Linked DNA regions of Homo sapiens: region 2 is linked to region 1. The links are contacts of gene promoters, found by promoter capture Hi-C in blood cells and fetal thymus (Javierre and others, 2016). All regions are on one chromosome and are shown on one strand. The core of a region is centred on a gene start or on the middle of the fragment in contact, and the rest is flanking DNA. Distances in the headings are between cores, read along the strand shown. Region 1 holds the start of NDC1 (NDC1 transmembrane nucleoporin). Region 2 has its middle 25 kb from the start of LRRC42.

Region 1 (3,468 bases), core at 350-2,849:
AATAGATATTGAGGCAGACAACGAGTAGTCTCTACCACAAGAACCTTAGAACCTGAGGTGTCTTTATGAACACGCATTTGGACTGATTTTTTTTTTTTTTGGACAGGGTCTCACTCTATGGCCCAGTCTGGAGTGTGATGGCGCCATCACTGCTCACTTCAGCCTGAACCTCCCAGGTTCAAGCAATTCTCCTGCCTCAGTCTATGGAGTAGCTTGGACTACAGGTGTGCACCACTACACCCGGCTAATTTAAAAAAAAGTTTGTTGTTGTTGTTGTTGTTGTTTTTGTGGAGATGAGGTCTCACTATGTTGCCCAGGCTGGTCTCAAACTCCTGGCTTGTGATCCTCCTGCCTTGGCCTCCCAAAGTGCTGGGATTACAGGTGTGAGCCACTGTGCCTGGCCTGGACTAATTCTTTACAAGTTTTCTCCACCACCGGATAGATCTCTTCACGGCAGAGACTTGATCTATCAGTTGTATTCCCAGTTTGTCCTACAGTGCTTTAGACATGATTGATAGTAACATGATTTTGGAAGTGAATAGGATATAATCTTAAAGCATTCAGGAAGCCATTGTTAGCAAACGTTGCAGAGCAGTAGGTGTGATCTCAATTCCTCTCACCAGCCTATGCATTTCCTTAGTCAGTAAATCACTGAATCTATTTCTGTCTTGAGTATTGCATGTTGACTGTGGCATGTGATTGAGCATAAAAAGGCGTTAGCGATATGCATCCAGAGATCTCACTGAGGTCTAAAGCACTGAGAAGACTTCATTAGGTGAAACTTGGGTTGGTGAAACACCTTTTTTCTTACTGGCAGTATATTAATGATAACATTTGTATAGCATATTATTTACATCCTCACAACATCACCAGGATATTTTTATTTTCATCCTTATCTTACTGTTGAAGAAATGGAGGCTCAGAGAAGATAAAAATATTCAATTTAGCAAGTGGCAGATCTGGAAGTAGAAACCAGATTTTATGAAACCAAAGGCATCTCTAGAGAATTTTTTTTTTATTTCAGTAAAATTACTGCGTACCTATTGTGGAGAAGACCACCACATCCTTTGGTTTCACTTTTAGGTGACTTATAAAGTAATAGGGAGAAATGAGGGCAGATCATTTTGCTAGCTCTAACTGAAGAATTCCAGTCAATCAATACTGTGGCTGTTATCGGCTTTATAAAAGACTACTATTCCCAGCATGCCTCAAGGCACCTCCAGGAAGACCTTGACTCCCAGCATTCTGTACTTTGGAACTCCGAGTCCCAGAATGCAACATTCCTCCTACTTCCTCTCAGGGGGCCGTCGAGACTACAGTTCCCAGCATGCAGCGCCGCCACCTGCTTCTGGCGCCCCGCTGGACCCTGCTTCGAAGGGACCGTTTGGTCGCCAGAGGGCGGTTCCTGGAGTTACAGCCGCGTTTGCGGGACGTGTCTGCGCGGCAGTCCTGGCCTGTTGAGCTTGTCCAGACGAAGCCTCGCAGGGATGGGTTGGAGCCTGGGCCGGGCTTCGCTCAGGCAGCGTTTGAGGCAGACCCAGCAGGGTCCTCCTGGGGCCTTCCTGCCTTTGAACTGCGGTGGCGGGCGGGCGCACGGTCTCCTGTACGCCCTAGACTAGGGGCCGCCATCTCCATGGCCACGGCCGTGAGCCGGCCCTGCGCCGGCAGGTCGCGGGACATACTGTGGCGCGTGAGTGCGGCGTGCACTGTGGCACGCACTGCCAGGGTCGGGCCGGGCGGGCAAGCTCTGATCGCGCGTGCGCGCTGGGCGGGGGAGGGCCGGTCCCGGGGCAGCGTGGAGAGAACGCGTGGGGAAGGCACCACTTGGGGGACTGATTGCAGGGTTGTGGGAAGTCCTGAGTGGAAGTTGGTTACGGGGTAGGAGAGGGGTCCTGAGTGGAAGGAAGCTGGTCAGAGTGGGACGGATGGACTGAATGGAAATTGGAATAGGGAGTGAGGCGGAGTTTTACGCAAGGGTACCGTATCCAGTAGGTGCAAAATAAATAACTTAATTTGTTTCGTTAAGAAGTGGGAAGGAATGCACGGAATTGGAAAGAAATGTGGCATTAGTAGAGGCTGGGGTTAGGGTCCAGTAAGCAGGGCAGGTGTTCTTTGTAAGGTAGAATGGGACTGAGCTGAGTGGAATAGTACTTCCTCCTTAAAGTTACGGAATTAACAGTACTACATCGCTTCTCTGGAGTGCAAAGAGAAAGAGGAGAAAGATCCCTTTTGGAAAAGTGCTTCTATCCCAGTGCACTGCCATCTCCCCTGTATTCCAAACTAAAAACTTTTGGGTCCGTAAGTCTTATCTTTTTTTTTTTTTGAGCCGGAGGCTCGCTCCCTGTTGCCCAGGCTGCAGTGCAATGGCGCGTTGTCGGCTCACTGCAACCCCCGCCTCCAGGGTTCAAGGAGTTCTGCCTCAGCTTCCCGAGGAGCGGGGATTATAGATACGCACCACTACGCCCAGCTAATTTTTGTATTTTTAGTAGAGATGGGGTTTCACCATGTTGGTCAGGCCGGTCTTGAACTCCTGACCTCAAGTGAGTCATCCGCCTCGGTCTCCCAAAGTGCTGAGATTACAGGCGTGAGCCACCGTGCCTGGCCTCTAAAATTTTTTTAAAAATTATTTTTATAATAGAGATACGATATCTTCTCCAGCCTGGTCTTGAGCTCCTGGGCTCAACTAGTCCTCCTGCCTCAGCCGCCTAACTATTTGGGACATCAGGTGCATGCCATCGTGCCTGGTGTATGTTTAGCATGCATGAGTACTTCATTCCTTTTTGTGGCTGAATAATCCACTGTATGGACATACCACATATTTTGTTTATCCATTCATCAGTATGTGGGTATTTGGGTTGTTGCCACCTTTGGCACTTGTGAGCCACCGCACTTGGCTGACAGTGTCTTCTGAAGCAAAAAAGTTTTAAATATTGCTGATGTCCAATTTATCTATATTTTTCTTTTGTTGCTTATGCTTTTGGTGTCATATCTAAGAAACCATTGCCAAATCCAAGATCATGAAGGTTTACTCCTATGTTTTCTTCCAAGAGTTTTATAGTTTTAGCTCTTACATGTAGGTCTTTAATCCATTTTGAGTTAATTTTTGTATAGAATGTGGGATAGGAGGCTGGGCGCTGTGGCTCACGCCTGTAATCTTAACACTTTGGGAGGCTGAGGTGGGAGGATCACTTGGGGTCAGGAGTTCGAGACCCCATCTCTACTGAAAAAAAAATTAGTCAGGTGTGGTGGCGGGCACCTGTAACCCCAGCTACTCAGGTGGCTGAGGCAGGAGAATCACTTGAACCCGGGAGGAGGAGGTTGCAGTGAGCTGAGATGGCACTGTTGCATCTAGCCTGGGGGACAGAGCGAGCTGTCTCAAAATCACAACATCAAAAAGAATGTGGGATAGGAGTTCAACTTTATTCTTTTTTTTTTTTTTTTTTGTTAGACAGAGTCTTGCTCTGTTGC
Region 2 (3,448 bases), core at 291-2,790, 130 kb before region 1:
CCTTGACATCTACTGCTCTCTGCCTGATCTTAAGTGTGGGAAGGACTGAGGCCCAGTCTCAGGCCTTCTACTTGTCTTTCTTTCTGTCCCTTGAATGTGCCAAACATTTCCCACCTTGACTTTTGCACTGTTCTTTCCTTCCCTGAGACCCTCCTCCAGATGTGTGCATTATCAGCTCCTTCTTATCATACTTCTCAGCTCAAGTGTCACTTCCTCAGAGAGGCCTTCTGTAACCCCCTAAGTTAATTAAAAATCTAAATTAACTTTCCATAACTCCCAATATCCCATTACCCTGTTCCATTTTCTTTACTTATCGCTATGTGAACTTAGCTTCTTGATTGACTGTTCTGTTCACTTAACTTTGTGTCTGCTCACCCTGTGCTCTTTAAAGGAAAATACTGTATTTTGTCTTGTTTATTGCTGAGTCCCTAGCACCTGGTACATGTTAAGTGTTCAACAGATACCTGTTCAAATAAACTGATGAATGGCTCAGGTTTTTAAAATGAATACATGGAAAAAAAAAATGGCCTGATATCAGATTCTTTAGTAATTCTCATAAACTAAAAGATTCTGGTTCAGGCCGGGCGCGGTGGCTCACACCTGTAATCCCAGCACATTGGGAGGCTGAGGTGGGAGGATCACCTGAGGTCAGGAGTTTGAGACCAGCCCGCCCAACATGGTGAAACCCCGTTAAAAATACAAAAATTAGCTGGGCATGGTGGCGGGCACCTGTAATCCCAGCTCTTCAGGAGGCAGAGGCAGGAGAATCACTTGAACCCAGCAGGCGGGTTCAACTAGTGAGCTGAGATTGCACCACTGCACTCCAACCTGGCAACAGAGCAAGACTCCATATCAAATAAATAAATAATAAATATGAGATTCTGATTCAATAAACATGGGTGGGGTCTAAGAATCTTCATTTTAACAAATACCACAGAAAACTCTGGGGCAGGGGTTCACAGAACATGTTTTTTGAGAAGCACTGATTTATTCATTCTTGTAAGCTTTATGTAGGTAGGCAGCAGAGTTTTAAAGAGGTATGAGGATTTTCAGAATTGAGTCACTTTGCGAAGTTCATAACGAGTCAGTAAGTAAATTCTAAGAAGGCAGAAACAAATTCTAATTTTAAAAAACAGCCTATCCTCACATGTAAGTTACACAAACACACAAATTACCCTATCTATTGTATGCTGGTCATAAATTCTTGGCCTTCACCTCAGTCATCAAAACAAAGCCTAGACTTCTATAACTCCATTTCAAAGAATGAATTCCTCAGACCAAAACAAGAAATATTTGTTTAAAGGAATCGTCAGCAGAGAAAAATGTGATTCTTGAAAAAAAGGATTAAAGAAAATGAAATCTTAGCTTTAAAAGTACACTGTGTTGATGAGAGAAGTGAGCACAAGTTGCTCTGAAGGGGTAAATGTGGAAGGAAGATTTGCCTTCCACAGTGATCAAAATGGGCGGATGTTTGAAGAGTAATTCCAGATGCTCCCTGTTAACATGGCATTATTGCCCCACAGGCAACAGTGGAGTCCGGTGGTGGTGGTGGGATTGTGTGCATGAGGGGGTGATCAAATTGGACTCTGGTTTGACTAACAATAATATGCCAACTTTGACAAGTAGAGCCAGCTGTTGATTGGCATTTGGAATTTGACAGAGTGCTACTGTCCACTCAAATGATTTTTTTTTTTTTTTTAAAGATGGAGTCTCGCTCTGCCGCCCAGGCTGGAATGCAGTGGCGCAATTTCGGCTCACTGCAACCTCCGCCTCCCGGGTTCAAGCAATTCTCCTGCCTCAGCCTCCTGAGCAGCTGGGATTATAGGCACACACCACCATGCCTGGCTAATTTTTGTATTTTTAGTAGAGACGGGGTTTCACCATGTTGGCCAGGCTGGTCTTGAACTCCTGACCTCAAGTGATCCGCCCGCCTTCGCCTACGAAAGTGCTGGGATTACAGGCGTGAGGCACCGTGCCCGGCCTCAAATGATATTTTAAAACTCTACTTTGTTACAGAGAAAACCAATCAGCACTGTATTCGCTTTTTCATTTTATAAATTTCAGAAATCAAGCTTTTGATATGATCCTGGGTAACAGCCCACCTTTAAAGAGGTAGTACCTTGCCTAGCTCAGAGTAGCAATTAACACATATTTTATCTAAGATCTACCTTTATTAAAATCCTGATTAAACAGAAAACCACATACTGCATGTTCTCACTTGTAAGTGGGAGCTAAACACTGAGTACACATGGATACAAAGAAAGGAACCACAGACACTGGGGCCTGTTGAGGGTGGAGGGAGAGGATCGAAAAACTACCTATTGGGTACTAACTACGCTTATTACCTGGGTGACGAGGTAATCTATACACCAGTCCCCCATGAGACGCAAGTTACCTATATGACAAATCTCCGTAAGTACCCTTGAACCTAAAAGTTAAAAAACAATAATGAATAAATAATAAATAAAATCCTCATTAAACTCCAGAGCACTTACAAATGTCAAACTAATGTTGTCAATTTCTTGAGGTATTTTCTCCCTTCCTTTTACTTGCCAGTAACTCTTGCTTTTAGCTCACCTTTTAAAGATGAATACGGTCTAGAGCAGTCCTGTCCAGTAAAAATATAATGCAATCACAAATGCAAGCCATGAATGTGATTTTAAACTTTCTAGTAGCCGTATTAGAAAAATAAAAACAGGTGAAATTATTTTAAATTACCATTTTAACATGTAACCAGTATTTCAAAATGGAGACTTTTTTTTTTTTGAGACAGAGTCTTGCTGTGTCACCAGGCTGGAGTGCAGTGGCACAATCTCAGCTCACTATGACCTCTGCCCTCCGGGTTCAAGCGATTCTCCTGCCTCAGCCTCCCAAGTAGCTGGAATTACAGGTGCATGCCACCACACCCGGCTAATTTTTTGTATTTTCAGTAGAGACGGGGTTTCACCATATTAGCCAGGATAGTCTCGATCTCCTGACCTCATGATCCGCCCGCCTTGGCCTCCCAAAGTGCTGGGATTACAGGCGCGAGCCACCACGCCTGGCTGAGACATTTTTCATTCAAACTTTTAGATACTAAGTCTTTGATATCTGATATCCAGTGTGTATTTTATAGCACATCTCAATTTGGACTAGCCACATTTCGAGTATTTAATAGCTACATGTAGCTAGGAGCTACATATTGGACAGTAAAGGTCTAGAGCTTTGCTACTCAATGTGTAGTCCACAAATTAGAGGCACTTTCAAAATATTTCTGCTCATAGACAATATACCTGATCACCCAAAAACTTACAAGATGAATGTTGTTTTCATGCCTGCTACCATAACACCTATTCTGCAGCATATGGATCTGGAGTAATTTCAACTTTCAGGTCTTATTATTAAATACATTTCACAAAGCAATAGCTGCCATAGACAGTGACTTCTCTAATGGATCTGGACAAAGTAA

What was found. Contacts are between HindIII fragments. The CHiCAGO score rates a contact against its expected background, and 5 or more counts as called.
Region 2: a fragment that was not itself captured here is called in contact with the fragment with the promoter of NDC1 in region 1 in 3 of 17 cell types (megakaryocytes, naive CD4 T cells and activated CD4 T cells); the score reaches 5.7 in megakaryocytes.

Annotation. Positions count from the first base shown.
Region 1 is chr1:53,836,427-53,839,894 of GRCh38, reverse strand. It overlaps NDC1 (NDC1 transmembrane nucleoporin), which reads left to right and starts at 1,599. Exons shown (of 18, transcript NM_018087.5): 1 at 1,599-1,690. The coding sequence starts at 1,634. RefSeq lists an enhancer at 1,126-1,605 and a silencer at 1,716-1,845. The HindIII fragment of the contact is 19,531 bases long and covers 1-3,468 here.
Region 2 is chr1:53,969,773-53,973,220 of GRCh38, reverse strand. No RefSeq gene overlaps it. Among named protein-coding and RNA genes, the nearest start is that of LRRC42, 25 kb to the right of the region's middle. The HindIII fragment of the contact is 1,068 bases long and covers 1,007-2,074 here.